Regions from separate parts of the Homo sapiens genome. Here region 1 is linked to region 2. The links are contacts of gene promoters, found by promoter capture Hi-C in human tissues and cell types (Jung and others, 2019). All regions are on one chromosome and are shown on one strand. Each heading gives the region's core, a stretch centred on a gene start or on the middle of the fragment in contact. The rest is flanking DNA. Distances are from core to core; before and after follow the strand shown.

What was found. The method cuts DNA at HindIII sites, captures the fragments that hold promoters and counts their contacts. A contact is called where the count stands out against the background at its distance.
Region 1: a contact is called between a fragment that was not itself captured here and the fragment with the promoter of TOM1L1 in region 2, in 1 of the 25 tissues and cell types used here (dorsolateral prefrontal cortex).

What each region holds. Positions count from the first base shown.
Region 1 is chr17:54,432,574-54,439,108 of GRCh38, reverse strand. No RefSeq gene overlaps it. Among named protein-coding and RNA genes, the nearest start is that of TOM1L1, 470 kb to the left of the region's middle. The HindIII fragment of the contact is 4,215 bases long and covers 1,914-6,128 here.
Region 2 is chr17:54,898,328-54,905,030 of GRCh38, reverse strand. TOM1L1 (target of myb1 like 1 membrane trafficking protein) reads right to left here and starts at 4,179. Exons shown (of 16, transcript NM_005486.3): 1 at 4,108-4,179; 2 at 1,239-1,323. The coding sequence starts at 4,165. LOC124904033 (a long non-coding RNA gene) reads left to right here and starts at 4,294. Exons shown (of 2, transcript XR_007065854.1): 1 at 4,294-6,423. RefSeq lists enhancers at 3,865-3,954, 3,975-4,084 and a silencer at 4,165-4,504. The HindIII fragment of the contact is 7,312 bases long and covers 3,210-6,703 here.

The DNA.
Region 1 (6,535 bases), core at 2,772-5,271, 470 kb after region 2:
TTAGTCTGGCTAGTGGTCTATCTATCTTGTTGATCTTTTCAAAAAACCAGCTCCTGGATTCATTGATTTTTTGGAGGGTTTTTCATGTCTCTATCTCCTTCAGTTCTGCTCTGATGTTAGTTATTTCTTGTCTTCTGCTAGCTTTTGAATTTGTTTGCTCTTGCTTCTTTAGTTCTTTTAATTGTGATGTTAGGGTGTAATTTTAGATCTTTCCTGCTTTCTCTTGTGGGTATTTAGTGCTATAAATTTCCCTCTACACACTGATTTAAATGTGTCCCAGAGAATCTGATATATTATGTCTTTGTTCTCATTGGTTTCAAAGAACATCTTTATTTCTGCCTTCATTTCATTATTTACCCATAGTCATTCAAGAGCAGGTTGTTCAGTTCCCATGTAGTTGTGCAGTTTTTAGTGAGTTTCTTAATCCTGAGTTCTAATTTGATTGCACTGTGGTCTGAGAGACTGTTATGATTTCCATTCTTTTGCATTTACTCAGGAGTGTTTTACTTCTAATTATGTGGTCAATTTTAGAATAAGTGTGATGTGGTGCTGAGAAGACTATATATTCTGTTGATTTGGGGTGGAGAGTTCTGTAGATTTTTATTAGGTCCACTTGGTCCAGAGCTGAGTTCAAGTCCTGGATATCCTTGTTAATTTTCTGTCTCATCGATCTGTTTAATATTGACAGTGGGGTGTTAAAGTCTCCCACTATTATTGTGTGAGAGTCCAAGTCTCTTTTTAGGTCTCTAAGAACTTGCTTTATGAATCTGGGTGCTCCTGTATTGGGTGCATATATATTTATCATAGTTAGCTCTTTTTGTTGCATTGATCCCTTACCATTATGTAATGTCCTTCTTTGTCTCTTTTGATCTTTGTTGGTTTAAAGTCTGTTTTATCAGAGACTAGGTTGTCAACCCCTGCTTTTTACTGCTTTCCTTTTGCTTGGTAAATATTCCTCCTTCCCTTTATTTTGAGCCTATGTGTGTCTTTGCACATGAGAGGGGTCTCCTGAATACAGCACACTGATGGGTCTTAATTCTTTATCCAATTTGCCAGTCTGCATCTTTTAATTGGGGCATTTAGCCAATTTATATTTCATGATAATATTGTTATGTGTGAATTTGATCCTGTCATTATGATGCTAGCTGGTTATTTTGCTCGTTAGTTGATGCAGTTTCTTCATAGCATTGTTGGTCTTTACAATTTACCGTGTTTTTGCAGTGGCTGGTACCAGTTGTTCCTTTCCATGTTTAGTGCTTCCTTCAGGAGCTCTTGTAAGGCAGGCCTGGTGGTGACAAAAATCTCTTAGCATTTGCTTATCTTTAAAGGATTTTATTTCTTTTTTATTGCTTATGAAGCTTAGTTTGGCTGGATATGAAATTCTGGGTTGAAAATTCTTTTCTTTAAGAATGTTAAATATTGGCTCCCACTCTCTTCTGGCTTGCAAGGTTTCTGCTGAAAGATCCGCTATTAGTCTGATGGGCTTCCCTTTGTGAGTAACCCGATCTTTCTCTCTGGCTGCCCTTAAACATTTTTTCCTTCATTTCAACCTTGGTGAATCTGACAATTATGAGTCTTGGGGTTGCTCTTCTCAAGGAATATCTTTGTGGTGTTCTCTGTATTTCCTGAATTTGAATGTTGGCCTGGCTTGCCAGGTTGGGGAAGTTCTCCTGGATCATATCCTAAAGAGTGTTTTTCAACTTGGTTCCATTCTCCCTGTCACTTTCAGGTACACCAATCAAACGTAGATTTGGTCTTTTCACATAGTCCCATATTTCTTGGAGACTTTATTAGTTTCTTTTCACTCTTTTTTCTCTAATCTTGTCTTCTCACTTTATTTTATTGAGTTGATCTTCAGTCTCTAATATCCTTTCTTCCACTTGATTGATTTGTCTATTGATACTTGTGTATGCTTCATGAAGTTATTGTGCTGTGTTTTTCAGCTCCATTAGGTCATTTATGTTCTTCCTATACTGGTTATTCTAGTTAGCAATTCATCTAACCTTCTTTCAAGGTTCTTAGCTTCCTTGCATTAGGTTAAAACATGCTCCTTTAGCTCAGAAGAGTTTGTTATTACCCACGTTCTGAAGCCTACTTCTGTCAATTTGTCAAACTCTTTCTCCGTCCAGTTTTGTTTCCTTGCTGGCACAGAGTTGTGATCCTTTGGAGGAGAAGAGGTATTCTGGTATTTGGAATTTTCAGCCTTTTTGCTCCAGTTTCTCCCCATGTTCATGGATTTATCTACCTTTGGTCTTTGATGTTGGTGACCTTCGGATGGGGAAGCTGGACATCCTTTTTGTTGATGTTGATACTATTCCTTTCTGTCTGTTAATTTTCCTTCCAATAGGCCCCTCTGCTGCAGGTCTGCTGGAGTTTGCTGGAGGTCCACTTCAGACCCTGTTTGCCTGGGTATCACCAGCGGAGGGTACAGAACAGCAAAGATTGCTGCCTGTTCCTTCCTCTGGAAGCTTCGTCCCTGAGGGGCACCTACCAAATGCTAGCCAGAGTTCTTCTGTATGAGGTATCTGTCAGCCCTTACTGGGAGGTTTCTCCCAGTCAGGAGACACGGGGGTCAGGGGCCCGCTTGAGGAGGCAGTCTGTCCCTTATCAGAGCACAAATGCTGTGTGCTGGGAGAACCACTGCTCTCTTCAGAGCTGTCAGGCAGGGATGTTTAAGTCTGCTGAAGCTGTAACCACACCCACCCATTCCCCCAGGTGCTCTGTCCCAGGAAGATGGGGGTTTCATCTATAAGTCCCTGACTGGGGCTGCTGCCATTTTTTCAGATATGTCCTGCCCAGAGAGGAGGAATCTAGAGAGGCAGTCTGGCCACAGTGGCCTCGCTGAGCTGCAGTGGGCTCCATCAAGTTCGAACTTCCAGGCAGCATTGTTTACACTGTGAGGGTAAAACCGCCTACTCAAACCTCAGCGATGGCAGATGCCCCTCCCCCCACCAAGCTCGAGCATCCCGGGTTGACCTCAGACTGATGTGCTGGCAGCGAGAATTTCAAGCCAGTGGATCTTAGCTTGCTGGGCTGCGTGGGGGTGGGACCTGCTGAGCCAGACCACTTGGCTTCCTGACTTCAGCCCCCTTTCCAGGGAAGTGAACGGTTCTGTCTCGCTGGCATTCCAGGTACCACTAGGGTACGAAAAAAAAACTCCTGCAGCTAGCCCAGTGTCTGCCCTAACAGCTGCCTAGTTTTGTGCTTAAAATCCAGGGCCCTGGTGGCATAGGCACTGGAGGAATTCTCCTGGCCTGCCAGTTGTGAAGAACATGGGAAAAGTGTGTTATCTGAGCCAGAGTGCACCGTTCCTCCTGGTACAGTCTCTCATGGCTTCCCTTGGCTAGGAGAGGGAAATCTCTCAACCCCTTGCACTTCCCAGGTGAGGTGGTGCCCCACCCTGCTTCAGCTTGCCCTTTGTGGGCTCCACCCACTGTCCAACCATTCCCAGTGAGATGAACCACGTACCTCAGTTGGAAATGCAGAAATCACCCACCTTCTGCGTTGATCTCACTGGGAGCTGCAGACCGGAGCTGTTCCTATTTGGCCATCTTGCCAGCCTCTCCTACATTAGAAAGAAGTATGTTTTTATAGATTGATGTAATATTTAAATAATATTTAAAGCAGTAAGAAAACTTTAATGATATTTTGTTAGTGGCAAGGTCAGCAGTAGAAGAGAAAAAAAGCATTCAGAAACTGCATTAATCCAAGTAGAGTTTCTGGGTCAAGAGAGGTGATAGACCTAGTGAATTCTGCACTCATCTGATCATATACATTGTACTGTGTTAAGTTCTACTCACCACTTTTTAAAACAGAAATAGATGAGCATGTGTTCATATGTAAGACAATTATTATATGTTAAGGAAGTTCTGGAAATAATATATAGACTATTTAATCCAAGGATATTTGGATAAAAAGGATAATTATTTTTAAGTATTTAAATAGCTGTAACATAAAAGAGAGAGTTCATTTTCATGTTTTCTTATGGCTGCATCTAAAGCTAATGAGTGACATTTATAAAAACTGAGCTTTTAGCTCAATATGGAAAGAATGTTTTAAAAATCAACACTTTCTAACAATGGATAAATCTAAAATAGCGGATGAATGATGATATACCTATGATATAACAGAAAGGATTTCTATGCAAAATTTGATGTAAGGAAGAATTACAAACCTTCTGTGTCCTTTTCTATCATAGATTATTATTATTCTAATAATTCATAACATGAAAGCTTGAATTCTTTAATAAAAGTGATAAATCTGCTGAGGGCAAAATGAATAAAATCTATTTCTATTTTTACTACTAACTAAAGTTGTATGTAAATTTAATATTTACTTGTTTTTATGTGTGACATATAACCACAGAGAGATATATTTCTAAAATATGCTAATCAAATATTAATAGTGCAGTACCTGAGCAATGCTACTACAAAAACAACATATTATCATAAGATCAAACTTACCAAGACAGTATTTATCTACCTATTTGTGTGATTCAGCACTGATGTATTTTCTGAGATTAAAAACAAATGAAAAAAAACACTAAAAAGTTGAAGATTTAGAACAAACCTTAAATCTTTAAAAGTTATAGTGGATTTTTTAGTACAATTAATCATAGGAGTTACAAGAGAATTTTCGTTGGCTGAGCAAGAGCCTGATAAAATCTCTTCCCACTTTTCCCAGTGTTTGTTCGTATCAGTTAATAACATGTGAACCTTGGTGCAGTGGGGAGAACTGGGAGAACAGTGTGGCATTCATCCTGCAACCAGCTACTTGGACTGCGTTTAAAACAGGAGACTGGTTAAATACCTGGACCCTGGAGCCAGAACATCTGACTCAAAATTCAAGTTATGTTTCTTCAAAACTAAGTGAACCTGGGCAAGTGGTGGAAGCTTTTATTGTCTCAGTTTTCTCATTTATAAAATATTTAAAAATTAAGAGAATAGATTCCATAGGATTGTTGTGACAGTCATAATTACAGTAATAGCTAATATTTATTGAGTGCTCACTATGTACTTGGCACAATTCTAAATGGATGGCCTGTATTGTTCATTTAATCATTATAACACACTCTAAAGTTGGTCAGTTTTTTTTTTCTTTTCCAAGTTGGGAAACTGAAGCACAGAGAGTTGGCAACTTATTAAAAGTAATACTATTAACCCAAAAAATCCAGCTTCAAAGATCACATTCTTAAGTATTACTCTCTAACCATATCAAGTAGGTCCTAGCACATGGTAAAGAACTCAATAAATTATAGCTAATATTACTTTCATTAGAGTGAAGACATGTCTTCACATTGTTCGGTTACTGAGCTTTATTAATATTTATTACCATAATTTAGAAATAAACGGGAGATATGGACAGAGAGGTGATGCTAGAACCCCTATGGCTGTGTCACTCTGCACGTATCTGATCTCATCTGGCAAACAGATTTAATGAGATTCTTTGTGTGACTCTAGGCACAAATGGAGCTACTTTGGATTCCAAGTAAAAAGGCAATAAAAGCCATCTGTCTCTTTCTGTTCGGAACTCTTTTAGGGACAACATGGCAGGTAGTGACAGTGGCAAAGCTTGACCAAGGGACTTTACAGCCACTGAGTATATAAAAGGGGGAGTAGAGTGAAAACCACATGGCAGTGGTTTCAACAGTGGTTCGTAAGCATGATTAGGGCACCACTTTTAGGACTTTTTGTTATAGCCAAAAGAGATATTGAGGTGAACGAATATTCATCAGATATATCAGTGGGGGCTCAAGCTGCCATAATTTGATCATTTAAAATAAATGTGGGTTCCACTTCCAGTGGATAGCTCAGAAAGCTCCACTCTCTCAAATAACAAATATGAAATCTGTTCCAAAAATAAAAAATAAATAACAAAACCTTCCCAAAGGCACCGGAGAGTGACAAAAAGCAGACAGACTATGGGGTGGAGATGGGCACAGGAATCGATACTGGGAAGGGAATGGCACTGGGGGAGTTTCCCATTTTCTTTGCTTCCATCCTGAGAAATGACAGTGTGTGCACATGGGGTGATAAAACTACAAGAAAGTCTGGTGTCATGTTGGCTCAAAGAAACAGAGGAGAAAGTTCAGGGCAACCACAGTTGTAGAAAAACAGGTTAGGAATCCTGGGGAGACCCACAGAGGGAAAGTCCAATAATTAGTGTATAAACTCTTCCCAGATATCGATGACCTCTGAATCACATCTGTGTGTGGTAGACTTTCAGTAACATAGCAAGGCAAAAAGGACAGAATTGAGATCAGGACTACTGCCCAGGAGAAAGAGTGTGCAGTTTAAATTTATCGAAGCAATTTGCTAGAACAAATACATCTACACTATATGCGGCAATATAAGAGAATCCAGAGTCTCTATAATATTAAATGCATATGTCCAGGATACCATACAAAACTTACTTAACAAAAGAAGAAATCAAAAATGGGAACCATTCTCTTAGGGGAAAAGACCAGTAAGAAAAATAATGATCTTGAAATGGCCAAGATGTTGAAACTACTAGACAAAATTTTAGAGAAGATGTT
Region 2 (6,703 bases), core at 2,930-5,429:
AAAGAAAGGACTGTTTATAAGGGTCCAAATTTACTTTAAGATTCTCTTTTTGTATTATCAATGAATTGGTATTATCAATGAAAATGTTCCCAGAGGAACTAAACATGGTAAATAGGATTATAGGAAAAAAACCATACACACTTAAAAGTACTAACCATAAGCGCTTTCCATTTATTTATAATCAATAATTAAGTTTGATGTTTTCTTTATCAACATAAGCTAGACTAAATCTCTTTTACTGCCAGTTATCACTTTAATATGCCCAGGAAAATTACCAGAATTGTGTTCCTTAGAATAACTTGTAATTGACTACAAGCAAACCAGTTTGCTCTTCTTAATGACTTTTTTCTTATAACTTCGATTCTCGAAAGTTTAAGAAGTTTAAGAACAAACGATAGCACATGCTATAAGAATACAGCTTAAACATGGGTGAGTTGACATTCAGAAGGAAAAAAATTGTCCTGGGACAGGGAGGAAAAAAGACTGCTAGATTGTTTCCTGGTTACTAGAAATAATTGCTCAGAAATAGGTCACCACCGGGAGTCAACCAGCTTCTTGATAATATTTGATGGTTTCATCAAATACTGGCACTGGGAGCTGGAGATATTCCTAAAGAAGGACACAATCTCTCTTTTTCAATTTTTTTTTTTTTTTTTTTTTTGAGATAGAGTCTTGCTTTGTTACCCAGGCTGGAGTGCAGTGGCATGATCTCTGCTCACTGCAAGCTCCACCTCCCAGGCTCACGCCATTCTCCTGCCTCAGCCTCCCAAGTAGCTGGTACTACAGGCACCCGCCACCATGCCTGGCTAATTTTTTTTGTATTTTTTAGTAGAGATGGGGTTTCAACGTGTTAGCCAGGATGGTCTCCATCTCCCGACCTCATGATCCGCCCGCCTCGGCCTCCCAAAGTGCTGGGATTACAGGCGTGAGCCACTGCGCCCGGCCTTTTTCAATCTTTTAGAAGGAAGGAATTTGAGCTTCACAGTGACAAAATTTGAAACTATTAAAGAAACTGCCAAGAGGAGAAAAATTATAGTGGATTTATGGATACTCCACATGTTGAAGCAAGCAGCTGCCCCAATATTTCAACCTGACAAGTCTTCAAAAGATAGAGGGTGCCTAATGAATGATGAAAACACTCTTTCAACAACAAAACCGAAATATTTGCAAGAGAAAACGTGCTGTAGTTCTGATGCTTCTTGTCAGAGGCAAATACATGGAAACCATGCTGTACTCACCCATCCTGGGTAGTGTTAATTATGTCACAGATGTGCATGAACTGGCCCCAATCTTCAGTCTGAACTCCAGCAAATGTAGCCTTTTCTGCCAAGAAAAAGCTGTTGAGTCTGAGCTACAACAGAATAAAAAATGTCTGGTATTCCTGAAATAATCTGCCTAGGCTGCACCAGCAAGTGTCATTAAGTTTACATTGCCAAAGGGCAAAGTGATTTTTTTTGGAACAGTTCTCAGTAATTCAGGAATCAATCAGAACCCAAGTTCAGAGTGCTGCTGCAGCAACAGTAATGAGTGACCTATTAATAAAGACCTCAAGCACAACAGCTGGCCACAGGCCCAGGCCAGGCCAGCTAAATCTCCGCCTGCCTGGCTTTCAGAGAAGGGAACTAGGGCTTAGTGAGCAGCTACCTAGAAGGTGAACTGCATAGTGCTAAGTATTTTATCATACGCAATTTCATTTAACCCACTGTGAGAGATGATGAGATAGAAGTTCAGAGAGGTTAGGAAATTACCAAAGTTATACAGTCAGTATGAAGTAGAATTGGCATTCAAATCTAGGTTGTTTGGTCCCACTGTTTGTTTTTAAAAATAATTTATTCTCTGGGGGGACAGGAGGAAAGAACTTTTAAAGGAGAGAAGTAATCCGTTGTTCTTAGGAGCCAAAACATTGGCACAACTCCAAATAAAAGTAATACGTTTATTGTCCTATCATCTTAATCTCACGATTCCTTCTAATTTTACCAATTATTATAACTTCAACCAATACTTGCAAAGACACTGCTTACCTCAACTATGTAAAAACTTCCATTGCATACACTTTTACTTTCAGCCTTAATTATTTCAAACTGGCGCTGGATAACTATCCGAACTAATAATAATAAGCATCTAAACTAACCACAGCTGCACCAGGCTGACCAGAATGCTTCTGCACTTGGAACCCTATGATTAGATAATCAGGCATCTTTCCCTCTCCAGACAGCCGCTTTAAGAATACAAGATGTTATCTGGAAAGGGTAATGGAACACTCAGTATGAATGCGCTAACATCTTCCTAAGAGAAGGACAAGATCCCTAAGCATGAAAACACCGGGTTCTGGGGGAAATGGAGAAAAAAACAAAAAAGATAGAGAAGGGGAAGAATAAGGACTTGCTTGGGGGAACCCCAAAGTTTAGCTTGCTTTCAATCCAGGAAAAGAACCACTTGAGGCGGGGCCCGGTGGCTCCCGCCTGTAATCCCAATCACTTTGGGAGGCCGAGGTGGGTAGATCACCTGAGGTCAGGAGGTCGAGACCAGCCTGGCCAGCATGGTGAAACTCCATCTCTACTAAAAATACAAAAATTAGCCTGGCGTGGTGGCATGTGCCTGTAGTCCCAGCTACTCGGGAGGCTGAGGAAGGAGAAGTGCTTGAACCCGGTAGGCGGAGGTTGCAGTGTGCCGAGAGCTACTGCACTCCAGCCTGGGTGTCACTCCCCGTCTCAAAACAAAAACAAAAACAAAAACAAAACAACAACAACAAAAAACTTGAATCTGGCACCGAATGGACAAAGCTTACCTCCCTAGAAAAGAAAACTCCTATTCACCCTTCAAAAGCCACGCAGAATTCATTTCTCCCTTCTCCTAAGTTTTGTGTGTTTTGCATTTTCTTGCATTGCAAAGGTGCCACACAAAACTGTGCCCGTCTTCTCTACAAGAAAGTGAGTTCCCTCAGGTTTGAGACCACGTCTCACCTTGGCCTCACCAGTGCCTGATCCAGGTCCAGGCACATAGCTGACAGTTAGTCCATGTTTACAGAATTAAAAAATTAAGCAGAAGAACTGCTGAAGTTTCGTTTGCCTATGAAGACACAGTCTGAATCCATTTCTGCTTGGGGTTCATTCTAATATCCAAAAAAGCACAGCCATTAAGGGAAAGCATCTCCTCAATGGTAGCTACTCTGACCATCTTATAAGGATGTGTAAACTAAGGTTCTGTTTAAGTGGTGTGTTCGGTGTCACAGCAGTTAGTAGAGCTGTGATCTAAATTTTCCAAATCTGGGCCTCTTTACTACAACTACTAGGTTCTCACGATTTCATCACCCCACTAAGTTCCTGACATCATCACACTTTGCCTGGCATTAATATGCACTCGTGCCACACCCAATTCCCAAGGGAGGAATCAGGGAAAAGAAGGAGCAGTGAGCTGGTGCTGGTAGGAGTCCAATCACTGGCTTCTACATACATCATGCAAGGTACATCCGGAGGAGAGAGAAATCATTTAGGTGGATGCTGGTGTAGTCCCTAGTGGCCTGCGAGAGACCTCCGTGGCCCCAGATGGCTCCTATGTTCCCCTCCTCTTCACTCCAATGCCAAGCATTTTCATTCTCTTTGTTTACCCAGAAAAGTAATCCAGGTTGTATAAGCTTGGCACTAGAGAAAACTGGTTTGGGGAGACCTGCCCCTCACAGTAAGGCCACATCACTTAGTCTCCCAGAGCCTCCTCTTCTGATCTGTAAAACGGGCATAACAATACCGTGCCCTGGAGAATGTGCCTTTAGGAATAACTTCCCCTACCGAGAAGTTTCTGGTGTCTCCTCGTGGAGGCCCAAACACTCCATGCCTGACTCCCGCGGTTCACCTGTTTGGTTCCACTCCCCAGGCGGCATCGAAAGGAAGGTACATTTTTGAGGACTGAGGTTCTACAGTGAGTTGGCCAAGAAGGAAACGACGAAAGGGGGCCGGGTGGAATGCGGGTGCCTTGGGAAAGTTGCGGGGGGAGGGGAATAATTTTTTCAAGTTGGACTAACTCCGTCCTCTGCAGGCCGAGAATGGATCAAGCAGGAAAGGATCCCACGGTCCCCTGCCTGCCTGGGCGTCTCTCCCCGCGCCTCCTTACCTATGAGGTGGCCCACGGAGGTCGCGTAGGGATCCCGGTGACTCTTGCCAAACGCCATGGTAGCGCCAGAGGGCCGGGCCCAGGAAATCCGCCTCCACCGCTCTCCGGCTCCCGACTCCACCCGCTCGGTACCCTTGGCTCCTCCTCTTCGCCCGAGCGCTTCCCGGGCTCTGGCAGAGGCGGTGCGTTCTGCGCTGCCGCTGCGGGGCGCGGGCACCGAGCGTGAGGAGCTGGGCGCGGGGCAGGGACGCGAGGGCGGGGCTTCGGGACGCCCAGCGCACCTGCAGCGCGCCCTGCGGGACCCGCGAGGAGGCTGCGCTGCCGGCTGCAGGTGGTACAGGCGGGTAGTGGCGGGTGTATGGAGCCTGCGAGAGTGGCGCGGCCGCCCGCTCGGATCCCAGGTGGGCTTTTCGCCCCGTGCAGGAGGAGCAGGCAGCCCAGAATCTCCAGCCTGGGAATTAGAGACCCAGGCTTTGATCCTGCCGCTTGCTGGGCACCTTGTCATTCTTCTCTGCGCCTCTTTGGCTGCCCTGGGTAGACCAAAGATAATAGGGGGTTAATAACACAAACCTCAGAATTATGAGAATTAAGGGAAGGACGTAACCGATTATGTCGGTGTCTGGTACCCACAAAATAAATAGTTAGCCACTGAATATACTGAATAACTAGAAATATTTACCCTCGACCTGCCTTTGTCCTAGAGATCCGGGAGGGGAGGTGTGCGCCCTGCCCTTTAAAGTTGTGGTCATGTCTAGGAGGAAGGATTGGCTTCGAATTTAGGGCTTCCCAGGAGCAGGCCCTCTTTGTCTCTCTACTATTTCCTCGAGGGACCACAGGGCGCCGCCTCGCAAGCTCTTGTTTTCTAACCCCACCTTCTGGGAGCCGTGTTTTCCAGCCTGATTCTAAAAACGGGAGAGGGGCTTTCCGTTTCTTCTGGCAAGGAGTATGCTTGGCTTTAGGCCTGCTTTGTAATGTAGGTTGGAATCTGAGAAGCCCAACACCTTTCCAGCTGCCCCTTCAGAACCAGAATTTATTTCCTATTCCTTTGCATTCAATTAACATCTGATTGGCGATGTTAACAATCTCCAGCCAGCAGGAGCCTGCCAGAGAGTGAGGTGTCCCCAGGCGATGTCAGATAGCCATAGATGAGCTCCTGGTGCTTGTAGATCCTGTTTCCTGTAGTCTAACTGCCACCCATTTCAAGTCTGTTTTTTAGCCCTGGAGATGGTGACTAGGGAGACGAAGGGGACCTGTTTTGACTTATGTCCGTGGTCTTGTGAATTTTAATATAGAGGTCAAAACCAATTGCCATGCACTCCAGGAGGCTAACATTTAATTATCTGTAACTCAATTATTTATAATTTTTCTTGACCAAAGTGAGCCAAAACCTGGGATTCTAAAATCTAGAATGAAATATTCTTGTTGTGATGATATGTCTCATAATGGGATTTGTCCCACGTGTAACTAATATTCTCCACCTGCCTATTCAGGGCGAGTAGCTATTTCAGATGTTGCCGTTTATCAACTTCCTTACTCATCACTATAGCCTCTGCTGACACTGTTGAAAACCTCTTTTGTGACATCACCAACCTAATCTGTATTCCATGCCTCTAGCAAAATATTTTGCCTTTTCTGCAACCTAGAATCAACCTACAATCTCTGAAAAAGAAAACCAATTTTAGCTTAGGCCAATGTTGGTGTCAGTGGCCTTCTATCAGTTAATGAGAACGAGAAAGGAACCGAGCATCCAGAGAGATAGATTTTTAACATACTTCTATGTGGGAGGTTTTTCTTTTCGTCTTCTTCTTCTTCTTTTTTTTTTTTTGTTTTTTTCTCCTATGTCTGATTTCCTTACATGACAGGACTGAGGCACCGAGAAAGAGGAGAAACAGTAGCAAGGAGTGTCTTCTGGACTTGATGCTTGGGTGAACAGAACCAAGGTTGATGAGTGCTACCTGTGTTCTATCTCAGCAATGCCTGGCAGAAGTTTTTCTCTCTCCCTGTGCCCTCCAGGGTGTTGTGGTGGTTGTTGCAGCCTTCTCTTCCTGTACTCTGTTCCGTTCTGCATGATCCCTCTTCTCTCCAGGCATGAAAATCAACGTGGTTAATGTTAGTAAAGTCTAGCAGCGGGGACAATAGAATTCACAGCTAAGTTGAGGTCAGAGAAGGAGCAGAATCCCACAGGGGTAAAATGACACCAGGAGTAAAATCTTACCACAATTTCAATTCCAAGAACACTTAGTCAACATTTATTTATGTAAAATGTGCTAAGTGTCTGCAACTAGAAATCTATCTTAATCTTCACAATCCTGAGAGGTGGGTAGTATTAACCTCATTTTTACAAATATATAATCTGAGATTCAGAAAGATCAAGTTTATAAATGGCTTCACTAAAGTTTGACTCATGGCTGCCTGGTTCCAAAGCCTATATTATTGTCACTAGGTGAATCTGTTTATTGAGCCTGATGTCTTGCTTTTTTAAAGGATCTGCTTGATTCAGTGCAAGACCTCTTGAAGAATACAGGAATAGGGGAAGTCATATACTTTGCTGGCACAAGGTCCTGCTTTTTTTCTGTTCTTGTTCAATAGCGAATAT